2 separate regions of the Homo sapiens genome follow, and region 1 is linked to region 2. The links are contacts of gene promoters, found by promoter capture Hi-C in human tissues and cell types (Jung and others, 2019). All regions are on one chromosome and are shown on one strand. Each heading gives the region's core, a stretch centred on a gene start or on the middle of the fragment in contact. The rest is flanking DNA. Distances are from core to core; before and after follow the strand shown.

The links. Contacts are between HindIII fragments. The study calls those that stand out against the background at their distance.
Region 1: a fragment that was not itself captured here is called in contact with the fragment with the promoter of ZNF510 in region 2 in 2 of the 25 tissues and cell types used here (mesendoderm cells and spleen).

The regions. Positions count from the first base shown.
Region 1 is chr9:96,703,087-96,710,260 of GRCh38, reverse strand. No RefSeq gene overlaps it. Among named protein-coding and RNA genes, the nearest start is that of PRXL2C, 51 kb to the right of the region's middle. The HindIII fragment of the contact is 3,848 bases long and covers 626-4,473 here.
Region 2 is chr9:96,775,413-96,782,837 of GRCh38, reverse strand. It overlaps ZNF510 (zinc finger protein 510), which reads left to right and starts at 4,751. Exons shown (of 6, transcript NM_014930.3): 1 at 4,751-4,804; 2 at 6,593-6,838. The coding sequence starts at 6,769. RefSeq lists a silencer at 4,891-4,990. The HindIII fragment of the contact is 14,118 bases long and covers 1-7,425 here.

The DNA of each region.
Region 1 (7,174 bases), core at 1,300-3,799, 70 kb after region 2:
GTTTCAGTGTCAGATATAGTTCTGGATACTTGAAAATTGCGTTCTTCAAATCTTCTCAACAACCATCCAAAGTGAATATCATCCTCAGGTGAAGTATGATAAACCCAAAGCTCTTCAGTGTTCATGCGAGCATAACTTATGCCATAATTTTAATTTCAACTCACACCTTCCCACCTCCCAAGTCCATTTTAAGCCCCTGCAATGGCAAGCTATCTACCGAAGATGCAAACTTCAGGTAAAGCTTGGCAGATTGTGAGTAGCTTAGTGTGTTGCCTGTGTGACGCACCAGGGTCAATGTGTAAGAAAGAGCTGGAAATGTAAGTTGAGCCAACCAAGGGTAATGACAGTGCATGTGCATGAGGAGGTATAAGACAAATGCATGAACTGGAATTGGTGATAAAACTTGTGTTTAGGGAAGATTATTTTCACAGCAAAGTGAAAAAAAGATTTAGAGAGAGGAAAAACTAGAGATTAGTGAGGAGGTAACTACAACAATACTGAGGTCTTGGAGTGTAAATTAGTAACAAGAAAAAGGGGTGAGATCCATATGAGGATAGACCTGCAAACTCCTTGAATATGGATATTCATGAAAAAAAAAATGAACAGTGCTACTGTTAACAAATCATGAAAACCAAGAAAATCAGTTTTGGGGACAGTTGTTTTAACTTTTAAGTGTTATAGAACCAAAGTGGGGTCCACTCTCCTGCCACAGTAAAACCACATATCCACACTGAAGTTTGCAGCAATAGAAAGGTGTTTATTGCAGAGCACCAAGCAAGAAGGACCAGGCAGCTAAATGCTCAAATCCTGACCTCCCCAGTGGCTTCCAGACAAAGGATCTCAAAGGCAGGGGTGGATTTCAGGAAAGCAGAAGCTGTAGGCAAAATTGTAAATCAATACATGGAGGTTGCTTTAGGCCTAAAAGGATGGAATATCTTGAAGTGGGGACTTACATGTCATAGGTAGATTCAACGATTTTCTGATTTGCAGATGGTTGAGGAAGAGAAGCTTTGTTTAAAAATTTGGAGTTGGTAGAAAAATGTTAACTGGCTAGGGAGTGTGCCTTTCTCCAAGCCCTTCCGGATGAAATGTTTACACCAAGAAACATTATATATAAGGTCTCAAGATAGTAGAAGGGACTATGAGAGATGAAATGAGAAGATATGGGGTTTTTCTGGATGGGAAGTGGGGGATTACAATAAACTGCTACCCCAAGACAGAGAGCACAGCAAATGAGAGATGATGCAAAGTGGAGTTAATGTGAGAGAAGTCAGGGAGAGCCTCTCCCTCCATCCCTCCATAAGCATCCATGTGGAGCCAGGGGAGTAGCTTGGGGGTCTTTCTTTTCCATGTTTGGGCACTCCACTTTGGGAAATAAGAACAGCAGTTGAAAAGAATAAGGACTTATAACTTTTTTTCCATCCAGAAAATTGGATTAGAAACCAGAAGGTTTGAGTCTTGTCTGGACCCCAGCACTAACTTGCTGTGTGACTTCAGTGAAGTCACTGCACCTCCTTGGGCTGATATTCTTCTTCAGTGAAGCAGGAATAGAATTATTACAGGTGGGATTCTGGATGATAGGAGCCAGTTTGAGGGGCACACACAGCCAGGTGCCAGTATGCACCCCATGCAGAAATGCTCAGGTAAGAGGCCCTTGTGCTGACCTCCACCTCTCACAGACCCTCCCATCCCTCTCTACTTCCCTCGACTTGGGAAACTGAACTCTCGCTTCTTCCTGGAGGTGCTGGAAAGAGAAGAGGGAGGGAGTTACATACTTCCCATTCCTCACCCCCACTGAGATCTCAGGGAGAAATGTATGAGCACCTTTCAATACACTTTCCCAGAGACTGAGAGCACAGTTGTCTGTCCCAGGACACTGCCACTGTGTGTTTTTGTAGGTTTCTGTAAAACTATAAAGGACTATATTCTGTACCAAAGAATGAGACACCTCCACTGCTGTCACTGGAACTTCTTTAATGCTTTGTAGGGAATAAGAAACAACCCTTTTGTCTCACTTTCCTCTTAAGATAGAGTTTGCCAGAGTGCAAATCCCTGTGCCATTGGATACAGCAAGACAGGAAAACAAACAGAAAAACCAAGTCTGGAGGTTTTCTCAAATTCTCTGTTATCTTTGGCATTTTCATCCCCTGAAATCATGAACCAAGCTGTTTATTCTGAAGCTGACTTCAGAACTGAGTGGCAGAAAGGGAGCTGTGTAATGCACTTATCTGGAGAACTCTGGTAGACAGACACCTGTGGCCACCATCTTCGAATAGAGGTCAGTGTCTCACCACAATTGAAAGGAAGTTCTAGGCTTTCAAGTGCTTAACTGAGAGCCCACTCATACCTCTACGCACTCTGTCAGCAAGGTCCCCCAAACAGCACCCCAGGCAACTTCCAGGATACAAGGGATAAATATACATCGTGTGTGTCGGCCCCCCGCCCGGCCAGCCGCCCCGTCCGGGAGGGAGGTGGGGGGGGTCAGCCCCCCTGCCCGGCCAGCCGCCCCGTCCGGGAGGTGAGGGGCGCCTCTGCCCGGCTGCCCCTACTGGGAAGTGAGGAGCCCCTCTGCCCGGCCAGCCGCCCCGTCCGGGAGGGAGGTGGGGGTGTCAGCCCCCCGCCCGGCCAGCCGCCCCGTCCGGGAGGGAGGTGGGGGGGGGTCAGCCCCCCCGCCCGGCCAGCCGCCCCATCCGGGAGGTGAGGGGCGCCTCTGCCCGGCCGCCCCTACTGGGAAGTGAGGAGCCCCTCTGCCCGGCCAGCCGCCCCGTCCGGGAGGGAGGTGGGGGGGGTCAGCCCCCCCGCCAGGCCAGCCGCCCCGTCCGGGAGGTGAGGGGCGCCTCTGCCCGGCCGCCCCTACTGGGAAGTGAGGAGCCCCTCTGCCCGGCCACCACCCCGTCTGGGAGGTGTGCCCAACAGCTCATTGAGAACGGGCCAGGATGACAATGGCGGCTTTGTGGAATAGAAAGGCAGGAAAGGTGGGGAAAAGATTGAGAAATCGGATGGTTGCCGTGTCTGTGTAGAAAGAAGTAGACGTGGGAGACTTTTCATTTTGTTCTGCACTAAGAAAAATTCCTCTGCCTTGGGATCCTGTTGATCTGTGACCTTACCCCCAACCCTGTGCTCTCTGAAACATGTGCTGTGTCCACTCAGGGTTAAATGGATTAAGGGCGGTGCAAGATGTGCTTTGTTAAACAGATGCTTGAAGGCAGCATGCTCGTTAAGAGTCATCACCAATCCCTAATCTCAAGTAATCAGGGACACAAACACTGCGGAAGGCCGCAGGGTCCTCTGCCTAGGAAAACCAGAGACCTTTGTTCACTTGTTTATCTGCTGACCTTCCCTCCACTATTGTCCCATGACCCTGCCAAATCCCCCTCTGTGAGAAACACCCAAGAATTATCAATAAAAAAATAAATTAAAAAAAAAACAAAAAAAAAAAAAAAAAAACCACAATGAATACCTCACACCAGTTAAAATGGCTTTTATCAAAAAGGGAATAGGGTTCCTGGCAAGGATGTGGACAAAAGGGAACCCTCCTCCGTTGTTGATGGGAATGTAAATTAGCGCAGCCACCATGGAAAACTGTGGAGATTCCTGAAAAAATTAAAAATAGAACTATCATATGATCCAGCAATCCCACTGCTGGGTATATATCCAAAAGAAAAGAAATCAATATATTGAAGAGATGTCTGCACTCCCATGTTTATTTCAGCACTACTTACAATAGCCAAAAGATGGAATCAACCCAAGTGCCCGTCAATGGATAAGTGGATAAAGAAAATGTGATATATATACACAATGGAATATTCCACCATTAAAAAAAATGAAATCCTATCATTTGCAGCAACACGGACGGAACTGAAGGTCACTGTTAAGTGAAATAAACCAAGCACAGAAACACAGATATCACATGTTCTCACTCAGATGTAGGAGTTAGGAATGTGGATCTCATAAAGAATGGTGGTTACCAGAGGCAGGGATGGGTAGGGGGAGGGAGGGATGAAGAGAGGTCAATAAATGGCTACAAAAAAATACAGGTAGATAGAAAAAATAGACCTAGTGTTTGATAAGTCAGTAGAGTGACTATAGTAAAACATCTATTGTATATTTCAAAATAGTAGAGAATAATTCAAATGTTTCCAGCATAAAGAAAAGATAAATGTTTAAGGTGATGGATGTTCCATTTACCCTGATTTGGTTATTATACTTATATTAATAATATCAAAATATCACATGTACCCCAGAAATATGCACATCTATTATGTATCAATAAAAAATAAAATTGCCACAGTCAAAAAAAAAAAAAAAATATATATATATATATACATCATGTGCCCTATGTAAGAGCTCACTGTCAAGATGCACAGGGATGTGAGGGGGCACCAGAAGTCCTCTCATCTGCCTTACTATGATCATGGGTCCTGGGCCTTGTGGAGAACAGATCGTTATTGTTTGAGATCAAGCTTGATCCCCAGGGATGAAGCTTCTACACATGCACTTAGCATTTCTACTTCCCAAGAAACAATAGGATATTGGGAAGAGTTTTGCACCAAACCATAACAGATGTGGTTGGACCATTTCAGAAGCAACTGATCTGCACAGTACCTAGGCCTTAATAGGATAAGGATTGCTTGAACACAATTTCATTATCTCACTGATTCCCAGTCAAGGAACGACCTGTGGGAGATATCATAAAATACCACATGAGAATACATTTGAACCTCTGATACCTAGGGACCAAAAATACAAGTTTATAGATTTTTAAATCAATTTCCATTGCAGTCGGAACACTTATTCTCTAACATTTCTTTCTTTCTTTTTTTTTTTTTCTGAGACAAAGCCTTGCTCTTGTCCCCCAGGCTGGAGTGCAATGGTGCGATCTCTGCTCACTGCAACCTCCGCTTCCCGGGTTCAAGTGATTCTCCTGCCTCAGCCTCCCGAGTAGTTGGGATTACAGGCGCCTACCACCACGCCCAGCTAATTTTTGTATTTTTAGTAGAGACGGGGTTTCACCATGTCAGCCGGGCTGGTCTAGTCTCCAACTCCTGACCTCAGGTGATCCGCCCACGTCGGCCTCCCGAAGTGCTGGGATTAAAGGCGTGAGCCACCGCGCCCAGCCTATTCTCTAACATTTCAATCTTCAGAATTTGTTGGAACTTCTTTAAGGCCTAAAACATAGGTTATCCTTGTAAAGGTTCCACGTACATTTTAAAACAATGTGTATTCTGCAATCCTTGGATGTAGTGTTCTACATATATTGTCAAACTGGTTGACAACATTTTTAAAGTCTTCTACCATCCTACTGGATTTATTTTTTGTCTAGTTTGTTCTATCAATTACTGTGAGAGATATCAAATCTCCAAGCAAGGTTGTGGATTTGTCTCTCTTTTTAGTTATCTCAGTTTTTGCATTGTGTATTTTGACACTTTCTCTCAATTTTTCATCTTTAGAGACAGGCTCTTCATCTGTCACCCAGGCTGGAGTGCAGTGGCATGATCACAGTTCAGTGAAGCCTCAAAATCCTAGGCTCAAGCCATCCTCCACCCCAGACTCCCTAGTAGCTGCTGTGCCTAGCTTGTATTTTGAAGCTCTTTTATTAGGTACACACATATTTACCATTGTTACATCTTCCTGATAAATTGACCCTTCTTAACATAATGAATTGTCTTTTTGAAACTCTATGACAATACCCATTGTACTGCGTCCATGTTAGTAACACATATTATATTTCTTATTTTTTTTGCAGAGTATACTTCTTATCACCCTTTTACTGTCAATCCACCTGTATCTTTACAGTTAAAACACATCTCTTTTAGACAAGATACAGTTGGATCACGCTTTTTTATCCAGCTTGAAAGCCTCCATTTTTAAATCTGAGGTTTAAGTCCATTTAGTGTAATTACTGATATAGTAGGGCTTAAATCTGCTACTTTGTTATTCATTTTCCAGTTGCCTCATTTGTTTTGCTTGTTTGATGGTTTTGTTCCTCTGTTCCACTTTTTTTGTCAGCTTTTAAATATTTTTAGAATTCCATTTTTATTCCTCTATTGGATATTTAGCTGTACTTCCCCATATTACTTTTTAGTGGTTAGTTTATAAATCAAAATGTTCATTCTTAATTTATCATAATCTATTTAGAGTTAACTAGATTAGTTATATTATATATTTAGAGTTATATTAATATTGTACCACTTCTCAAAAAATTTAAAATCCTTTCAACAGTAAAATTATACTTGTGCCCTGTCTTTTTGGCTATTGTCATATATTTTATAGCAACATATGTAAGAAACCCTTACATATTATTTTTGCTTCAAAAACTAAGTTATCTTTCCAAAATTTGAACAGAAAAAAATAAAGGAAAGTATTTTCCATATATCTACATATTTAGGATTTCTGGATTCTTTTAGTGAATCCAGATTGGTATCTGACATGGTTTCCTCTTGTCTACTGGCAACAAATTCCCTCAATTTTTGTTTGTTCATTTTTCCTTCAATTTTGAAGCATAATTTCACAGGATACAGAATTCTCGGTTGGTAGGTTTTTTCCTCACCACACTTTAAATATTTCACTCCACTCTCTTCTTGCTGGCATCGTTTTTCAAAAGTCAGGTGTAATTCTTATCTGTGCTTCTTTATGGGTGTTTTTCTCTTCTGGCTTCTTTCAAGGCTTTTTCTTTTGTTTTTTTTTTTTTGTTTTTGTTTTTGTTTTAACAGAGTCTCACTCTGTCAACCAGGCTGGAGTGCAGTGGCACGATCTCAGCTCACTGCAACCTCCGCCTCCTGGGTTCAAGTGATTCTTGTGCCTCAGCCTCCCGAGTAGCTGGGATTACAGGCGTGTGCCACCCTGCCTAATTTTTGTATTTTTAGTAGAGATGGGGTTTCACCATGTTGACCAGGCTGGCCTCGAGCTCCTGACCTCAAATGATCCACCCACGTTGGCCTCCCAAAATGTGGGATTACAGGTGTGAGCCACCATGCCTGCCCTTAAGAATTTTTTTCTTTACATTTTCTGTAGTTTTAATATATGTCTAGGTGTATTTTCAATTAATTTATTTTGGCATTTATCCTGCTTGATGTTCTCTTAGCTTTCTGGATCTGTTTTTGTTTGGTTTGGTGTCTGACATTAATTTGAGGAAAATTATCAGTCATTATTGTCTCAAGTATTTCTTCTGTTC
Region 2 (7,425 bases), core at 3,502-6,001:
AGCCATGTGGAACTGTGAGCCAAATAAACCTCTTTCCTCTGTAAATTACCCAGTCTTGGGTATTTCTTTATAGCAGTCTAAAGACAGACTAATACACAGGGACTCAAACAAATATTTTTACGCCAATGTTCATGATAGCATTACTAATAATAGCCAAAAATGGAAATGACCCAAATGTTCACTGACAGATGAATGGATAAACAAAATATGATGTATACATATAATGGAATATTATTCAGCCTTCAAACAAAATGAAATTCCAATATATGTAACAACATGGATGAACCTTCAGGACATTTGCTAAGTGAAATAAGCTAGACACAAAATGACAAATATTTTATGATTCCTCTTAAATGAGGTACCTACAATTCATAATGAAAGTAAGTAGAATAGTGGTTACAGAGGTGCTAGGAGAGGCAGGAGTGGAGAGTTGTTGAGTGAGTGTGAAGTTTCAGTTTGGGGTGATGAAAGGCTCTGGGGACAGAAAGTGTTAACAGTTGCACAACAATGTGAATAGGCTTTTTACCACTGAATTGTACACTCAAAAGTGTTTAAAATTGTAAGCTTTATGTTTTGTGTATTTTACAAGAAAAAAATTTTTAATCAATGAATGTAATTCACAATATTGACAGACTAAATAAAAATAGCCATATGATCATATCAATAGATGCAGGACCATATCAATAGATGCAGGACAGGTATCTGACACAATTCAACATATATTTGTTGTAAAATCTCTTAGCTAATTAAGAATAGAAGAAACTTCTAATGTAGGGTATTTACAAAAACTTTTAGCTAACATCACACTTAATGATCTGAATAAGGCAACTGCTATGGTTTTAATGTTTGTCCCCCTCCATAATTCAAATGAAAAGTTAATTGCCATTGTAACAGTTTTAAGAGAGATTGCTATGCATTTTCAACTTTAAGAGATGATTAGGCCACGAGGGCGTCACCTTCATGGGTAGGATTGGTGCTATTATAAAAGGGCAAGTTTGGCCCTCTCTTGCCCCTTTCTCTCTTCTGCCATGTGAGGAAGAGCATTCTGTTCCTCACCTCACCCCATCCCCCAAGGATGCAGCATTCAAGATGCCGTCTTGGAAAACAGATTAAGATAACAATGCTCTCTCAGTACTCCTATTCAACATCATCCTACAAGTCTTGGCCAGTGAAATAAAGGAACAAAAAGAAAGAAAAGTCATACAGTCTGAAAAGGAAGAAACAAATGGTCACTATTTGCAGACAAAATGACTATATATGTAGAACATTTCAAACAATATACCAAAAAAACTTATTTAATTAATAAGCAAGTTTAGCACGTTTTCAGGATAAATGTCAATATACAAAAGTCATCTTATCCCTGTATACCAACAGTGAACAACTGGAATGTGACATTTTAAAAAAATCTATTTAAAACAGAAGAAAGGAAGAAAGAAGGAAAAAAGAAAGGTACACCTCTGTACAAATGTATCAAAATGTGTGCAGGATCTATATATATATATATATATATATATATATATATATATACTGAAAACTACAAAACACAGCTGAAAGGAAAGAAAGATTCACGTAAAATATCCCATTTTCTTTTTTTTTCTTTTTTTTTTTTTTTGAGGTGGAGTCTTGCTCTGTTGCCCTGGCTAGGGTACAGTGGCCCGATCTTGGCTCACTGCAACCTCCACCTCCTGGGTTCAAGCAATTCTCCTGCCTCAGCCTCCTGAGTAGCTGAGATTACAGGCACGTGCCACAATGCCCGGCTATTTTTTGTATTTTTAGTAGAGATGGGGTTTCACCATGTTGGCCAGGCTGGTCTTAAACTCTTGACCTCAAGTGATCTGCCTGCCTCAGCCTCGCAAAGTGCTGGGATTACAGGTGTGAACGACTCCACCCAAAGTACACCAATTTCACTCATTGAGAGACTCAATATTGTTAAGATGCCAGCTCTCCCAAATCTCAGCAATCTTTTTGTAGATGTCAACAGGCTGATTCTAAAATTTCCATGGAAAGGCAAAGAAACTAGAATAGCCAAAATAATTCTTAAAAAGAAAAAATTGGAGAATTTACATTATGAGATTTCAAGGCTTTCTATAAAATTAGAGTAATCCAAACAATATATCTGCAAAAGAATAGACAGACCAGGCAACACAAAGAAGAAAGGATTTTTTAAAGTGAATTGAAATTTTATTTTTATACAAAAACCTGCGTGTGAATCTTACATTACAGGGTTATTCATAATTGTCAAAAACTGGAAACCACCAGCTGCCCTTCAACAGGTGAATGAAGAAACACTACTAAATTAGTGAGTGATACTTTAAGAGAAACATGATGTTTTATAGCCTCAAAATATCTCACTGCAGGCCAGTCATGGTGGCTCGCGTCTGTAGTCCCAGCACTTTGAGAGGCAAAGGTGGGTGGATCGCCTGAGCCCAAGAGTTTGAGACCAACATGGACAAAAACAAAGAAAGAGAAAGAAAAAGGGAAAGGAAGGGAGGGAGGAAGGGAGGGAGGGAGGGAGGAAGGGAGGGAGGGAGGTCCAAAACTTAGCTACTTGGGAAGCTGAGGTGGGAGGATCACTTGAGCCTAGGAAGTCCAGGCTGCAATAAGCCGTGATCGCACCACTTCACTCCAGCCTCGGTGACATAGTGAGACCCGGTCTCAAAAACAAACAAACAAACCAAACCTCACTGCAAATATTTATCAGCTGCGGTGGTGCTGCATCTACACACACAGCGCCGAACTTGGAAGTTGGCGGAGAGCAGCTCTTTGGGCACCAGGCAAGGTCTCAGCCTTCAGACAGATGTGAAGGGCGAGACTTTCCTTGGAAAGGAATTAAAGGGTTTATCTTTTTAAAACACCTGTTTCTCTTAAAAACTTAAGAAATGTATAATTTAAAAATTTAAAACTTTGATATTATTAATTGCTTATTGTTGAATGAATCCTTGTGAAAATTATTGATTGTAATGTTAGTGCCATGGATATGTCCTTTGTCCCAGCACCTATCTCATTGTCCTAACAAGGTTACTGAAGGTTCTCTTTCCACTGCTTTAAAAGCCAGCTGATACATACTACATTCTTTCTTTTTCATATAGTTGAACTTTTACTGCACCAGGATAAATTTTTAAATATTTAGTGATAGTATACATAGTAAATATAGAGATATTGCTATGCATTTTCAATTCTTTTCTGATCATTACCATAAGTTTTTATTAGAATGAAAATTGGAATAGTTCCTTTAGGAAAACAGGCAAAATATATAAATGTCAAAAAAAGAAAATATATACTTAGAAAACATAGATGATTAGAATTTTTAAAAACAAATGTTAGTCTTTTCCTCCAGTATCTATTAAAGTGTTTTTCAGTGTCAACAGTAAAATTTTATACCTTGATTCATATATACTGCACTAGTTTACTGTTGCCATTAATCTTTTTTCTTGCTAATCAAAACTTATCATTGCCATATAAAATAACCTGTTAGAAAGTATCAACCGTGTGTGTGTGAGTGTATGTGTGTTACTAAAAAGAGTGTCATAAAATACTGTGCTGAGAGGTTCCTAATTTGGTTCCTGATTTCAGAAGCATACCACATAAGATTTAAGCAAGCTCATCTCTAGGAGATGCATAATTTGTGGATAACGGTTTTCTTAGTTGGGATTGTGTGTACTTCAGGTATTATGTAATGCTGAACAGCTTACTTGCTTTTTCTTTTTTTCCCCCCAGAGATAAACTGAGGATCACAAATATTATTCTTTTATGTTAATAATGGTTTCCATTTTCTAGTATTTGTTACATTTTACGGCTTTATTCACAAAGCTGTTTATGTATTTTTGTGGCAGCTCTAAGTTAAAAGGCACACTTGTAACATTACAGTCCCAATTTTCCCTTTATCAACTTTATATTATAAAATTTTCCAACACATAGTCAATAAGCATGTCCATATTCTAGAAGTAGATATTCTTAACATTTTGCCATACTTCCCATTTCTAATTATTTTTTAAAAAGAACTTACAAACGGGCCGGGAGTGGTAGCTCACGCCTGTATACCCAGCACTTTGGGAGGCCAAGGCAGGCGGATCACTTGAGGTGAGGAGTTCGAGACCAGCCTGGCCAACATGGTGAAACCCCGTCTCTACTAAAAATACAAAAATTAGCTGGGCGTAGTGGCGGGCGCCTGTAGTCCCAGCTACTTGGGAGGCTGAGGCAGGAGAATCGCTTGAACCCGGGAGGCGGAGGTTGCAGTTAGCCGAGATCGCGCCACTGCACTCCAGCCTGGGCGACAGAGTAAGACTCCGTCTCAAAAAAAAAAAAAAAAACCAAAAAACCCAAAAACTTACAAACATAATACAATCCTAAATACTTACATAGACATCTCTTTATGAATAAGCAAGATTACCTACATAATCCCAATGCTGCCACAATTAATTAATAATTCTAATTTCCAGTCCGTATACAAATTTTCCCAATTGTTTTCAAACGTCTTCCGCGGCTCTTGCTTTCTGTAACCACACGCTGCATTTGCTGTTATGTCATCAAGTCTAACCCACAACCTCTGGGGCTCTGACAGAACCCGGGCTCCAGTTATCAGGACGGTCCATGTTATTACGCCATAAATCTTGGGGGAAAAACAAACAAAAAAACACTGACAGCTGGCGCCGTACTGCATGTGAAACGTAGTCTTGCATGTTATGGGTTACCGCGCAGCATGCTGGGAACGGATATGCGCGTTTTCGTCTGCGCATGTGCAGTCAACCCCACTTTCCGGCTTCTCCCTGTTAGTGTTTGCTGGTGCAGAGGGTTCGCAGCTCAGGTGAGAGCGCCGGGCCTCCACGCGGATTGCGGACCTGCAGGGAGGGATGTGCTAGTGTCCAGGGGGCGGGAACGCGACGTCCCGGGAACTCCCCCAAAGCAGGCCGTCGCTCCCTGTGCCTCGGCCGGCCCGGGACCTCAGCCTGAGAAGGGCCGGTGGGGGCGGGCTCCGGGGGCGTTAGGTGGGGCTGAGTCCTAGTTGGAAGATGCTCGGTGCGGGCCGAGGTATGGGCGCCAGAATGCAGCCAGGCGTCGGAAAACGCGGTGCTGGCTTCAGGAGGGGAATGCGCGTTTATTGTATTGACCATGAACCTGCCACAAAGCGCGTACAGCCCGTGGGTCTGCGGTGAGAGGCCGAGCCTAGGAGCTAGAAGGACCTCGTGAATTTTGGCTCTGTCACTTGAGCGTTTGAAAATGAGGATATTAGTAAAAACTGCTTTGTGTCGTTCAGAGGTAAGCCATCCCCTGTAAAGCATTTAGCTAAGCGCTAGTTACTAAGCAGCATGTAAATGTTGATTCCCGTTATATTTGGAAGACACTTTGTTCTTTTCATGTAGTATTTCGTTTAATTCTCACAACCACCCTATTTATATCATTAAAAATGAAGAAGGAGGAGTGAAAAGATAGAGCCAAGCTCACAAAGGATGAGAGAGCTAGGATGTCAATACATAAACACTTTACTCCCCGAATCAGGCTGTTTGTAATGGCCTACCTACCTAACCCAGCATTGCAGCCTTCACAGCACTGAGTGATTGTCCCCAAAACCCCAGGACAATGATTGTGAAGTCAGTGTGGACAGAATCTTACTATGTGGCAAGTGTATTTGTTGTGGGGTTTCTGGGATGTCTCCAGAGCCTCTGGGTTAGACTGAGGCCCCTGCCACCTCCTGTGCTGTCCCTCCTGTCTCTGTCTTTAGAAGTCAGTCTGATATTCTAGGGCAGTGAAGATGAGTCACATACGTAATTTTAAATGTTAAACTAGTAGCTACATGAAAATCTAAAACATGAAATTAATTTTAAGAACATACTGTGGTTTTCTCAGTGTATCCAAAATGTTATTTCAACATGTGGTCCTAGCCACATTTCCAGTGCTCAGTAGTTGATGTGATTGGAGGCTGTAGTCATGGATAGCAGGGTTCTAATTAATGCCAAGAGAATCAGGTTTAAGGCCTTAGGTCACTTCTTCACCAGGAGGATTTTGCTCCCTAGGGAACTTTGGAAATGTTGGAGACTTTTTTGGTGGGGGGAGAGGGGACTGAGTTTCTCTCTGTCGCCCAGGCTGGAGGGCAGTGGTGTGATCTTGGCTCACTGCAACCTCCACCTCCCAGGTTCAACTGATTCTCCTGCCCCAGCCTCCCAGCTTGTAATCTCAGCTGGAATTACAAGCATGCATGGCCATGCCCAGCTAATTTTTTGTATTTTTAGTAGAGGTGGGGTTTCACCATATTGGCCAGGCTTATCTTGAACTCCTGACCTCAGGTGATCCACCTGCCTTGGCCTCCCACAGTCCTGGGATTACAGGCGTGAGCCACCACGCCCGGCCTGGAGACGTTTCTGATTGTCACAACAGGGAGAAGGGGTGTCCTAGTGTCTAGTGCATGTTTAGAAATGCTCTTAAACATCCTGCAATGCACAGGACCACTCCTTATGTCAGAGGATTATCCAGCCCAAAATGGAAGTTGTGCTGACGTGAAGAACACTGTTTTCCATGAAAGTTTCAACTAAAATAAATTTGTTACCCAGGCATCAGCCCCAGCTTCTCTGGAGCAAAGCAGCTCTTTATGTTGCAGGAAGGAGGGAGCCCCAGGAACAGGAGTCCCACCGAAGAACTGCTCTCTGACAGAACAGAGACCTCCTCACCAGGGCTTCCAAACAGATGCAGAAGAACCCAGAAAGGAGCAGGTCTTGATTTGCCCAACCAGCGGCACTTCTTCATCCCCTTGCCCAGAGAGCACCAGACTTGGTGATGTCGCCACATCCAGAAGCCATCACAGATTGTGTGACACTGAACACTGTGGGCCAACTTGCAGAAGGTGGTAAGCTGGGGTTGAGAGGCGTGGGTGACTGTCAGACTGCACAGGAAAAGCCACATTACTGGAGGGCTTTTCTCCATGGTCTCCAAGGAAGGCATAACCAGCCAGGGCTGAGGAAATTGTCTCTAATCCTCCTCATAGAGCCCCCATTTTCTTCATTCTTGCCTCACTCTTTCCAGATTCTGAGTCACTCTCACACAACATCCATCACATGTAGCATCTAGAAATTTACTAAGGTTGCCTCTATCCTGAACCTGTAGAATCACAAAAATGATAATACAGGAAAGGATTTCTATTTCTGACTCTTAAAACCTTAAAAAGTATTGAACCTAGGATGAACAGTTTGTCCATGGTCACTCAGGACAGAGCTTGGAGCAAAGCACAGTGCTGTTCACTCTGTCACAGGTGAGTCACCAGAAGTGTCTTATCGAAAGTCTTTTGAGAAACTATAAGTTAGAACAAAAATATTTTAAAATAGTCTTTCAGCATCTCCTTTTTTTCAGTTTTGTGTTTTCTATTGGTGTAAATAATATTAACAGAATATTAATGTTAATTCTGTTTAAGTTGTTAGTCAAAGAAGACATACATTT